4 separate regions of the Homo sapiens genome follow, and all the other regions are linked to region 4. Evidence: promoter capture Hi-C in 16 types of primary human blood cells and fetal thymus (Javierre and others, 2016). All regions are on one chromosome and are shown on one strand. Each heading gives the region's core, a stretch centred on a gene start or on the middle of the fragment in contact. The rest is flanking DNA. Distances are from core to core; before and after follow the strand shown.

What was found. Contacts are between HindIII fragments. The CHiCAGO score rates a contact against its expected background, and 5 or more counts as called.
Region 1: a contact is called between a fragment that was not itself captured here and the fragment with the promoter of TIAM1-AS1 in region 4, in 14 of 17 cell types (naive CD4 T cells, activated CD4 T cells, non-activated CD4 T cells and 11 more). The highest score is 27.2, in naive CD4 T cells.
Region 2: a contact is called between a fragment that was not itself captured here and the fragment with the promoter of TIAM1-AS1 in region 4, in 9 of 17 cell types (activated CD4 T cells, naive CD4 T cells, non-activated CD4 T cells and 6 more). The highest score is 16.9, in activated CD4 T cells.
Region 3: a fragment that was not itself captured here is called in contact with the fragment with the promoter of TIAM1-AS1 in region 4 in 6 of 17 cell types (activated CD4 T cells, naive CD8 T cells, fetal thymus and 3 more); the score reaches 13.1 in activated CD4 T cells.

The regions. Positions count from the first base shown.
Region 1 is chr21:31,191,653-31,194,645 of GRCh38, forward strand. The region is part of intron 13 of TIAM1 (TIAM Rac1 associated GEF 1); the gene reads right to left. Among named protein-coding and RNA genes, the nearest start is that of TIAM1, 150 kb to the right of the region's middle. The HindIII fragment of the contact is 1,451 bases long and covers 670-2,120 here.
Region 2 is chr21:31,269,485-31,272,250 of GRCh38, forward strand. All of the region lies in intron 3 of TIAM1 (TIAM Rac1 associated GEF 1), which reads right to left. Among named protein-coding and RNA genes, the nearest start is that of TIAM1, 73 kb to the right of the region's middle. The HindIII fragment of the contact is 510 bases long and covers 1,138-1,647 here.
Region 3 is chr21:31,287,045-31,290,106 of GRCh38, forward strand. The region is part of intron 2 of TIAM1 (TIAM Rac1 associated GEF 1); the gene reads right to left. Among named protein-coding and RNA genes, the nearest start is that of TIAM1, 56 kb to the right of the region's middle. The HindIII fragment of the contact is 5,407 bases long and covers 1-3,062 here.
Region 4 is chr21:31,557,363-31,560,515 of GRCh38, forward strand. It overlaps TIAM1-AS1 (TIAM1 antisense RNA 1), which reads left to right and starts at 1,871. Exons shown (of 2, transcript NR_171013.1): 1 at 1,871-2,233; 2 at 2,655-3,125. It also overlaps a transcript of TIAM1 not described here. RefSeq lists enhancers at 1-684, 1,498-2,310 and a silencer at 1,590-2,219. The HindIII fragment of the contact is 6,855 bases long and covers 1-3,153 here.

The DNA of each region.
Region 1 (2,993 bases), core at 145-2,644, 370 kb before region 4:
TACCTGCTTCTTTACATCGGATGAGTTGGGAAGCACTGTTTGTAACACTCTCAAGACTGACGCCTGGTGCCCTGTCATACCCTCCTCAGGGGGTAAAAGTAAATGGGTTCTGTGAGTAATTCAGTGACTTTAACAAAAAGTATTAAAATGTATACAAACGGTAGCAGTTTCATGCCCAGTTCCAATTTCTGAGTCCCTGAATCACTCAATCTTAGAAGCAGAGTCCAAGAGCTTTGAAATTCAGCCTTCTGAACTTGATCTTTGCTAGTTTATCCTTACTCAACAAAAATTAAGTAAACTGAAGAGAAAAAGAATAATCATTATGGAGCATCTAATTTTGGAGGATCCAGGCACTTCACTGCTACCAATTACAGCTCTAATTACTGAGGTCGGCTTTTTGCTGCATAATAAGCCGCTCATAAACATTTATTCCTTGCCATGAGAAACATTCTCCTGGCTTTATTATGTCTTTAGTTTTAAGGTCAAGAAATAAACAGCATAAAGTTATAACGCAAGTGGCCAGGGTTCAAAACTGGATTCTCTTCATTAGGCCCAAATCCTCTATTGAGTATTCCGAGATGAAGACTGGTGGCCTACAGGGGAAGGTGCAGAAGGAATGTAATATCCCAGTGCTCAGAAAAGAGTTTTAAAGATTTTCAAATGCTAAAAAGCTTAATAACCTGGGCCAGGCACAGTGGCTCATGCCTGTAATCCCAGCACTTTGGGAGGCCGAGGTGGGTGGATCAGTTGAGGTCAGGAGTTCAAGACCACCCTGGCCAACACGGTGAAACCCGTCTCTTCTAAAAGTACAAAAATTAGCCAGGCATGGTGGCACACGCCTGTAATCCCAGCTACTTGGGAAGCAGGAGAATCACTTGAACCTGGGAGGCAGAGGTTGGAGTGAGCTGAGATCGCGCCACTGCACTTCAGCCTGGGCGACAGAGGGAAACTGTGTCTTAAAAAAAAAAAAGACAGCTTAATAACTTGATTCAGAGAGAAATCTTAAGCGAGCATATGAGGTAGTCTTTATGTCTTTCCACCGGGAACTTTGTTCTCCTTCTACCAAACAGTAGAATCACACTTCAGTGCTCCCTCGTAGGTAGGTATGGCTGTGTGACTTGCTTTGGCCAATGAATTGGGAGTGGGACAACACCTGCTTTCCCATCTCCCCTTCCCCCTCTGCAGAGTGACAAGCACTGTCCCAGGTGGCAGCTGCTCCAGACCTGGGTGTGGAATGAGGACAACGTATGGAGTCCCAGCCAACCCACAAGGGACGCGTGGTGAATGTGAGAAATAAATGTCACTGTTTCGAGCCACCGGGCTTTGGTGGCTGTCTGTTACCTCAGCTAACCTCGCCACTCCTGACTGATACAGCACAGCATGGATTTTCCTCACTTAATTTACTCAGGCACCAACTCTGTTACTATTCAAGCCATACAGTGTAATGCTAAGTAAAGAAGACTGGTCTTAAACATATGGAAAGGAATATATATTTAACTCCGCCAGAATGTAGACAACCGCATAGGAAAGCGTTAACACAGCAGGCATGACTGCTATTCTTCGAAAGGCCCGCTTACAAATTTGAACCTTGGCTGGTATCCTGAGAACTTGGATTTTGGGAGGGTTCCCAACACCCTGAGTGGCTCACAGTGCCTAAACTGTGGTACAAACAATGGGATTTATGGTGAACGCCTACTTTCCTCCTGGGAGTCTGGAATTTTGGTGCATGCTAGGCAGAGGGTGCCTAGGGAACCAGCCTCCCCAGAAAAGCCCTGGGCACTGACTCTCTAACCACCTTCCCTAGGAGAGAGCATTTCTCAGGTGTCCTCACAACTTGGTGCTGCAGGAGTTATCCTCATTCTACGTGACTCCACTGAAACAGGGCCCGCTGAAGCTCACACCTGGTTTCCCCTAGACTTCACTCCATGCGCCTTTTCCCTTTGCTGATTTTGCTTTGTGTTGATACAGGAGTTAAGATGAAATGATTTAGGCAGAGAGCGAGGAGAAGAAAATCCTCAGTAACATTTTCCTTTTAATGAAAAGCAACCCCCAAATAATTTTTTTTTGTAACAAAAAGCAGCCTGTAAAATCAAGCTGCACACACAGACAAGCAAGCTGGAAGCTTACACCGGTGAGTGCCGGCAGTGTGAATCGGGAAAAGCTAGCTGGGACTAAGCATGTTCAAAATGGCGGCTCCATCCTCTCTTCTCTTTGTCAGCCATGCGTACAGTAAGAAGCAGTGAACATGGCCCCCGCCAGGCAAAGACTCCATTTGCATAATAAAGATTAGGATAGGGCAGCCAGCTTCCATGCGTGCTGTGTAGACCTCACACCTGGTCCAAACAATCTGTGGGCCTTATGTAAATCAGACACCGCCTCCTCAAGCCTGGCTATACAAATCCAGTGCATTCCGCCGCTGGCCGGAAGACCCACTCGGGCACCCCTCTCTCTCTGCAGGAGAGAGAGCTATTCTCCTTTCTCTTTTTTTTTGCCTGTTAAACCTCTACTCCTAAACCCACTTCTTGTGTGTCCGCATCCTCGATTCCCTTGGCATGAGACAACGAACCGTGGGTATTTACCCAAGACAACGAAGCCGCTTCAGTATAATTTGCTATTAAAAAAATCATAGTTGTGAGTATGACCAGAGGCTGAGCTCTGTGGGTCTTCCTAGTGAATCAGCAAACCTAGGGATGGTCTTGGGGACCCCCCTACACACCACCAAAATAGTTCCTTTAACATTATTTGTATGGGAAGGGAGGATAATGTAGGATAATGGCTTACTTATTTTGAGATTTCTCAAAATTTATAGTTTTCGGGAGGGGGTGTAAAAGAATAATTCCTACATTACTAAGGTACATCATAGTATATGTTAAACAAAAATTATGGGAGGTCATTGTTGTGAACTGAGTTCCTGCATTATGCCCGAAAGGCCAGATCAAATAAAAATGGAATCACTCATGCTGGATGCCACATAATCAAACTAAAACTTTCAG
Region 2 (2,766 bases), core at 143-2,642, 290 kb before region 4:
AAAGCTGTTCCTGAGAGGTTAATAAGAACGATGAAAGCCCATGTGGGATCAGCGGAGGACTCTGAAATAACATCAGCGTGAAAAGTTGAAATTGCTCATTGCATACAGGAGACACAATCTCCACTTCAGGGACAACCCCTGCCCCACTGGCAACCCCCAGAAAGTTGGTGAACTTTAAGTTTGTTTGTTTTTTTTTTTTTTTTTTGAGACGGAGTCTTGCTCTGTCGCCCCGGCTGGAGTGCAGTGGCACGATCTTGGCTCACTGCAAGCTCCACCTCCCAGGTTCACGCCATTCTCCTGCCTCAGCCTCCCGAGTAGCTGGGACTACAGGCGCCCGCCACCACGCCTGGCTAATTTTTTGTATTTTTATTAGAGACAGGGTTTCACTATGTTAGCCAGGATGGTCTCAATCTCCTGACCTTGTGATCTGCCCACCTAGGCCTCCCAAAGTGCTGGGATTACAGGCGTGAGCCACCACGCCCGGCCGATGAATTTTAAGTTTTACCCTTTCCATGTACAAATGTAAAATGCCAGCTACTTCCATCATCTTAATTTCTTCCTATTCAATCTTACTTAACCCTTTTTATTTTTATCTTCAACAAACAAAACCTGATTTGCATTTTATATTTGTGTGGGTTTTGTTGTTCCTGTAGCCCAAAGAAAGCAAATTCAGAGCAGAAATTAACTTTTACTTTTTTTACGGCTTCCACAAGACTAGAAATATTCCACGCACGATAAAGCATCAGTAAATATCGGTGCATTTTAGTAACAAAAGCAAAAAGTGAAGGACCAGCACCTCACTAACATCATCACACAGTCACTAGGTAGGAGAGAGAATATTTGGGACAAGGAGGACAGGCTGAAATGCAAAAATTGGGATTGACATTGAAAAGGTGGATGCCAGAAAACTGGTACTAGATCTCAAGCTTGGAAACACTACCAGTTTTAAATTCATTAAACTCTTAATTTCAGACTATGATTTACTTATATAGAATGTTAGTGGTCCCACATAGCTCTCATGTTTAGGGACTAGGTAGGAGGGAGGGAGGACAAGCTTTTAGCCTAAGAACAACTCTCCATATTCAAACCTCAAGTCTGGCTTCTCGTGCTTTTCTTTCTTTCCAATCTTCTAAGTCAAGCTTGTCCAACCCATAGCCCACAGGCCACATGGATGGCTTTGAATGCAGCCCAACACAAATTCATACACTTTCTTAAAACACTATGAGATTTTTTTGCAATTTTGGTTTTTTTGGCTCATCCGTTATCGTTAGTGTTAGTGTATCTTATGTGTGGCCCAAGACAATTCTTCTTCTTCCAATGTGGCCCAGGGAAGCCAAAAGATTGGACATCCCTGTTCTAAGTTCTGGCTTCCTTAGCCTGCCTCAGGGCCTGTGCCTGTCCCTCTGCCTAGAACGCTCTGCCTTTCCGCCTACTCCACCAAGTTCCTTCAGACCTTCAATCAAATGTCCCCTGGTCAAGGAGGCCTTTCCTGACCCCTCCTCCATCTAAAATGACAACCAGTGCTGCAGCACTCAACATTTCTTACCCCTCTTCTTTTGCTTTGCCTTCACATTGATCATAATTGTAACCAACATATATTTCACTTACTGGTCTTTCTTATTCTCTATCCTTTCCCACTAGAGCCTAAGCTTCAGGAGGGCTGGAAGTGTCTTGTTTCCTGCTGTATCCTCATTGCCTAGAACCCAGCCTGAAAGGTTGTAGGTGGTCCATTAAAAAAAACACCAAAAACCCAAAAGAAAAAAAAAAATACTGGAATGAATGAATGACAAAGACACTTTAATCTAAGATGTGAAAACTCATACAACTACAATGCAACATAGGTGAGAACATGACCACAATGCTAATGAGACACAGCACACATCAGTCTTAAATACGCTAGCCTCTTCTCTCAGGATGCCTGGAAGAAACTTCCCAATCAGCTCTCTGCTCTCTGGGTCCCTTCCACCTGCAGGTCTGTGTCAGTCCCTTACTCTGGACCACTGGGTTGAAGGTCATCCTGATCCATGAACTTAGGGGTGAGGGTGTTCAGCTTGTGCTCCAGTGTGTTCCCCTCCCCACCCCCAATTCTTCCTGGGGAAAGAATTAAGGGCTTGCACCTGTCTAATTCCACTGAATTCTTGCCTCCAGTTCCTATCTTCCTCTTCCTTTTGGAGCTGCAGTGCAGAGGTTCAGGAATGAGGTTAAGAGTTGAGAGGGCAAGTGTAGAACTGCTCAGGCCTAGGACGATCCAGAGAAAGTGAGAGCAAAGGAGTCTTAGTGGCATGATGGGCAAGAGTGTCATCTGAAAGTGGTATGGGGTCAAAGCATCAGGAGTTCCTGGGGGAGTGCTCAGGGCCAGGGATCAAAGACAATAGGATGAGTGTGATTTTTCTTTTCTTACCAACACCATGATCCCTCTCTTAAAGTGATAAGTTAAACTTTTCAATAAGTAATCACCTTAAGGGCCTTTAAATCCCACCAAATTAAATGCAGATGCTCCTCCATTTATGATGGGGTCATGTCCTCATAAACCCATTGTAAGGTGAAAATATCCTAAGTCAAAAATTCATTTAATACACCTAACCTACCAAACATCATAGCTCAGCACAGCTTACCCTAAATGGCTCAGAACACTTACATTAGCCTACAGCTGAGCAAAATCATCTGACACAAAGCGTATTTTAAGTATTGAATGTTTGTTGAATATTTATTTATAATAAGTGTTGAATATTTCATGTAACTTACTGAATACTGTGCTGAAAGTGA
Region 3 (3,062 bases), core at 340-2,839, 270 kb before region 4:
TTTATTTCATTGATTTTAAGAAACACTATTTTTGACTCTTAACATCTTTGAAATTGAATATATCTTACAATCACAATGGTGTATTGGGGTTTAGTGGTGCCATTTTCTCTGCTTCTTAGTGGTATGCAAAATAGTGGTGCATTTTACAAATGACAGCATCTTATGAAAAAGAGTATATAAAAATAGGCTTCTAAATAGCTACGCTTAGGGCTATCTAAAAACTGCTTATGAATTGTTTGGGTAAGACAGAGTATCTATGTAGAATTTTACTGATGATCACACATTCAGTTCAACTCAACCAACATTTTACTGGGCACCTGTTATATGTTTGGAATGAGGAAATAGACCATTTCTTTATGATGCATATAATCTGGGAAGACAGTGGGCATCTACCCACTCAGACAGGGCTGTAACAGCTAGTCTGGCATTATTAATAGTGAAGGATGTGAAGAAATAGACTAATTCTGCTAGGAGAGGCTCTCGGTTGAACCTGGTCCTGACAGGTTAATAGGATTTGGCTTAGCTTAGGAGGATGAGAGGAAATGAACAGGGATAGGAGAGAGTTTACACAAAGAGAAGGACAGAAATTTCCAGTAAAAGAGAAGGGTATAAGCAAAGACTCTGAGGAATGAAAGTATCATTAGCCCAATGTTGCAGTGAGGCGAGTGCATGGGAAAAAGCTGGAGATGATGAAGCTAAAAAGATGGGCTGGGGCTATGGATGCTACACAAAGGAACTGAACATGATTGTATTTGATGGGATTACACGATGAGATTTTATTATGGGAGTTACATGATCAAACATAGTTTTCCCACCTGGGTAGCTTGGAAGAGAAGGGAAAGACTTATTGCAAGCCATCAATAAGTTGGGATGGCCCAACGGGGACAGTGAGTGCCTTGGAGTAGTGAGAATGACAGGTAGGATCACCAGGACTCGGTGGCCACATACATCCTTTGAGGAAAGAAGGAGGAAGAACAAGGAGGCATAGACTTCTCTGAAGTTCCTGGCTTGGTAACTGAAATGGAAGGTGACAATAACACCTTCCACTCTGAGGTATAATCAAGCACCAGATTCAAATGTTATCCCTGAGGGGCCACAATTCACTCACAGTGATCTTACTGGAAATTTGGTGTCCATTCCACAAAGGACCTCAAAAACAAAGGACTGGAACCCACTAGAACAGCAATACAGTTAAAAAACAAAAACAAACAAACAAAAAAAACAACCTTCCTGCCTTAGTATGTTTGGGCTGCTATAACAAAATACCTTAGACTGAGTAATTTATAAACAACAGAAATTTCTTGCTCACAGTTCTAGGGGCTGGGAAGTCCAAGTTCAGGTTGCCAGCAGATTCAGCATCTGATGAGGGCCTGTTCCTCACAGATGGCACCTTCCTGATACATCCTCTCCTGATAGAAAGGGCAAACAGGCTCCTTCAAGTCTCTTTCATAAGGGCACGAATCCCATTTATGAGGGCAGAGCACTCATGACCTAATCACGTCCTAAAGGCCCCACCGCATGATACTATCACATTCAGGTATTAGGTTCCAACATATGAATTTATACCAACATTCAGAGCATAGCAACTCCCAAAAAACTTAGATCAGGGAGGATATTGGAATGGAGACACAAATAATGGCCAATTCCAATGCAGATTTATGGAACTTAAAACACACACAAAAACAAAACCAAACCCTCTAATTATCCATGAGAGGCCAGAAGTTTCAAACATTATCTCAACCACACTTTGTATGGACTAAATCAATACCTGTAATAATAAATGGATTTAACAGCTTCAATAATTTAATGCAAAAATAAAAATAGGATGCCTCAGCCTTGGCATCATAAAGTTAAAAAGTAAATCAGATTTGGGTTCAGTCTCCAAAATATTCTCAGGCTGCAGGAAACCCACCATGCTGTTGACTCACATCTTGAACTCACTCTTATTATTTAAATAAGATCACTGAATGCAGGCAATGATCAAAGCTGTACAAATCACAGTGCAATATATCTGCAATGCATAAATAAGCATGCCCAAGTGCCACTTAAACACATGTAGCATTTAAGAACAATCATTTAACTTTTCTGTGAGTGTATAAAATAAGAAGTCAATAGCTTTGCAACACCATGCAGATCTCAGGCAATGCCCTGGTTTATGTGAGTGACCAGACCAGCAAAGGATGAGAGTGGAGCACATGGTGATGGGCACAGAGGGATGGCAAGAAAGACATGGGTTAACTATGGGACACAAGTGACTTGGCCCAACTCTCCTAAGCACCCATTCTTTTTAAAGTTAGGTGGATGGTCTGGAAGTTTTTGTGCTCCCTACGCCTGGAAAGAAGTCCATATTTCTTTAACTTTCTCAAGTCAAAACCCACGGGCATCACAATGGTAACCACCATGAGATTTTTCTCTACTGGGTATTCTTTTTTCAGTATAGGTGATTCAATTAAGGCAAAAGTACCACTGAGCTGGACCCCAGAAAAGTGACCTAAGCTCATTTAAAAGCCGGTGCAAGATATTTTGGCTGTACAACAATTACTGTTCATCCTAGCCAAATGACAAATTGGGAGAGAATAAAAAGCATATGAAGTCATTGCGAATCAGATTTGTTATGTAGAAGAAAACAAAAATCAAACAGAGCCCATATTCCCCTCCCTAAAAATCATAAGAGGATAATCAGCCTCTTTTAATATAAAGGCAATTCCTGGGGAGTCATGGGAACGTTTCTCAAACAGTGATACATCAGTCCCCATGCAGAAAACCGATACATAAAATCACAAAGCAAATCTGTTTCTAGTATGACAGCAACAGGCTTTAAAAGCCTGACATTCACTGCCAAGTAATATCTATGGGACCACACACAAGGGAAGTGAAACAGACACTAGGCTTGCCCTCTACGAATCAATGAGTATACTCCTGTCCAGGGCACTATGATGCAAATGGTTTTATTGGCATCACCATTCAAAAAAATAGTTCTAAGCATGCCCACCCCGAAGAGTATGCCTACCACTGCTGATTTATTTAATGTATATATACTTGAAGTACTGTTCAAATACATT
Region 4 (3,153 bases), core at 621-3,120:
TCAACAGGACTCTAATATTTCATACGTGGCTGTCACTGTGCTTTGAGGTTAATCTATATGGTCGTTTAAGCCCCGCCCCCCTAGAGGTTATTCCTTATCCCCACTTTACAGATGCGCAAACTGAGACACAGGAAGATAGAATAGCTCGGCCGGGATCACCCAGCTTGTGAGTGACACCGAGCAGGTACTGGAACCCGGGTTTGTTTGACCTCAGCGCACAGGCTCTAAACCTCTGCTCCAACTCAAAGTATGCGCCAAGTCAGCGTGCATGGGTAACCCGATCCGGACGGCTCTGACTCGGGATGCGGCACAGCTGCCCTGCGGGGCCGCGCGGGTGTCACCGAGGCGGGCACAGACTGCACAGTGTCCCCAAGGGCTCGCGCACGTCCTTCAAGACCTGCCAGCGCGCGGGAAAAGGCAGGCTCCGAGTCAACCAGGGCTGACCCGGGGGCAAGACCAGGAGACGCGACGACTGGAACCGGGTGAGTGTGGCCGAGTCGGCGCCCCGAGGGCCGCCAGCCTGGACCCCAGGCTGGGACACGGGCGCCCCCGGGTGCAGGGGACCTAGAGGCGCCGTGCGCGGCGGGGGCTGGGCGCGAAGGCGCCGAGACGGCATCTTTCCCCTGCAGCATCCCGCCCCGCGGCCGGGGGGAGGGGGCGTCACCTGACAGCGCGCAACAACTTCTCCAGGTTTCGAGGGGGCAAGCGGCAGCCGCCGGGGCTGGGGGGCGCACGGCGCGCTGCTCTCGCCCAATGGCGAGGTCTGTAAACAAAAGCGGGCCCCACGCGGGTCCCCAGCCGGGTGGCGAGGGGCGCGGCGCAGCAGCATCGCAGCGGCAGAGCTGGTGAGAGGGCGAGGCGGGGACGGGATAGGGCGCGGGGACCCAGGGCACAGTCCCCGGGACCCGACCGCCCGGATGAGGCATTGTCTGCGCACCCGCAGGATTCCGCTTTTAATGCCCCCCTCCGGGGGTTCGTCGCGGGTCCCCAGCTCCGTGCGCCGGCCCCCGGGCTTTCCGCCCGGTGAGCCCGGCCCCGAGGGCGGCACGGATCGCCAAGGTGAGCGCCCAGGACGCGTCGCCGAAAAGCCAGGCCCGGAGGTGCCTAAGTCAGGGACCGAGACGCAAACATAGACACAAGGATGCACAAGCACGCCCTCCCCGAAGTTGACAAAAATCAGCCGATAAAATACAAAGTGCCGCGGCCGCCGCAGGTCAGCGCTGACCTCCTGCTGCCGAGAGGACCGAATGCCGACGTCCGGACGCTGTCATTTCCATCCAGCGAAGGCACCTGGGCTGCACGGTCTCGTCTCCCTCCTTCGCGCGAGGGATGCCTCCTCCTGCCTCTCCTCCCCGCATCTCCCCACCTCCCAAGTGTGTGAACACGAAAACAATACGTGGAAAGCCCGATCGGGGGGAGCTAGGACCCGCCGGGAGCCCCAGTGTGCGGGAGACGGGGGTCAGAACGTGCCCGGCACGGGCACCGAGGCTCCGGGCATCCTCGCCGCCGTCTCCCGGGGCGGCTCCGGCCGGACGCCCGCGCACCCCAGGCCCGCGGTACTCACCCGCGACGGTCGTCCGGGATCTCCGCGACGGGGCCGGGCACGATGCGGGGCAGCCGTGCCCCTGGGGCTGCGGGCGCCAAGGCGTCCGCGGAGCTGCAGAGCTGCGCGCCCGACGGCGGCGGCGCTGCTCTGCCGGCCGCGCTCGAACCCGCTCGTGGTCTGCCAATCGGAGCTGTCAGGGCCCCTCCGCCTGCGGCCTCGGGGGCCGGGCCGCGGGAGCCCGTGGGAAACCGAGCTCCGATTGGGCCGCCTGACAATCGCTCCGCCTCCGGCCAGCCAATCCGAGGCGGTGGATGCAGGAGCGGGGCGTTCGGAGTTGGGCTGTAGAGCGACTATGGGCGCACGCCGGGTATCCGCGCCGCAGCCAGGCTCGGAGCGCGCGGCTGGAGGGGCGCGGGCGGCGCGCGCTCCAGAGATGCCTTCCTGCGAGGCTCCGTCAGCGCGGCCCGGGGAGATCGCCCGCAGGCAGCGGAGGCGCGGCGGGCCGGGGGACGACCAGGGAGCCCCTAACAAAGCAGCTTTGGGAGGGCCGGAGGCCTCTGCCTCCCTCGGCGATAGGTCCGCGAAGCTGCCTGTCATCTCGCATAGGTGGAGGTGGCCAATGGCGTGCACAGACGGAGCTCTAGTTGGCGCGCGCGCGCGGCTCGGCATCGGTGGGATTGGTCGGAGGTAAAGGATTTTCCTGCCACCTAAGGCGGAGAGGAAGGGGGATCGAAACGGGGGAGGCGAAGAGTCAAAAAATGTTGTGCCTGGGACAAGTGGTCTGGCGCGGGAGGCGTGTGCCTGGCTCTAGGGGGAGACAGGAACTTTTTTACGAGAGAAAAAAATCCTAACGCAATCCCTTCCCGTGGATGCTAGAGGATGTTAGACCCTGAGCAGCCTCCAGGTAGGGCATGGTGGCCTTCACCAGAGTCCAGGACTCCCAGGGTTCACTTACCGTGCCCAGCAAGCGAACTTGGAATAACAGCGTGGGGTTTGGGCCTTACGCTTACCTGCTGGGCAGAGTAAGTGACTCGGGCAGGGTTCACGCAGACCTCCTGGGCTCCTCTGTAAAATCCGGAAACTACAGTTGCAGTTTACCTCTCGCAAGGTTGTGGAGAACGCGGAAACGGAGACGCTGGCGGTACAGCCTCGAGCGAAACCTTTCCCTACACGAGGCCGGAGCTTCCTCCTCTCCTGAAGAGCTCTAGACTTCCCCATTTACAACAAAGGCTGGGATGTATGTTCCTTACACCTTGATTCCATACACACGTGTTCGCCCCGGGAGCTGGGAAGGTCTGCGCTCCCGGGGTGATCTTGTTGAAAACAAAAAGAATTGCCCACGCTGTGGAAGATAAACCTAAACCGGAAAATTGAAAGTCATCCCTGATTCCTCCTTCTTCTTAACCCTCTCCCATCCATTTTTGTTAACCTCCCAAACCCATTCCTCCCATCCTGTCTCACCTGGACCTCAGTAAAGGGCTCCCATCGTCCTTCTGTCCCAGGCCTTGCCCCCTGAAATCTGTTCTCCACTTTGCAGAATGATCCTTCTAAGCAGAAAAATCTCATTTTGCGCTCCCAACTCTGGGTCTCTTTTCTTTCCCCAGAAC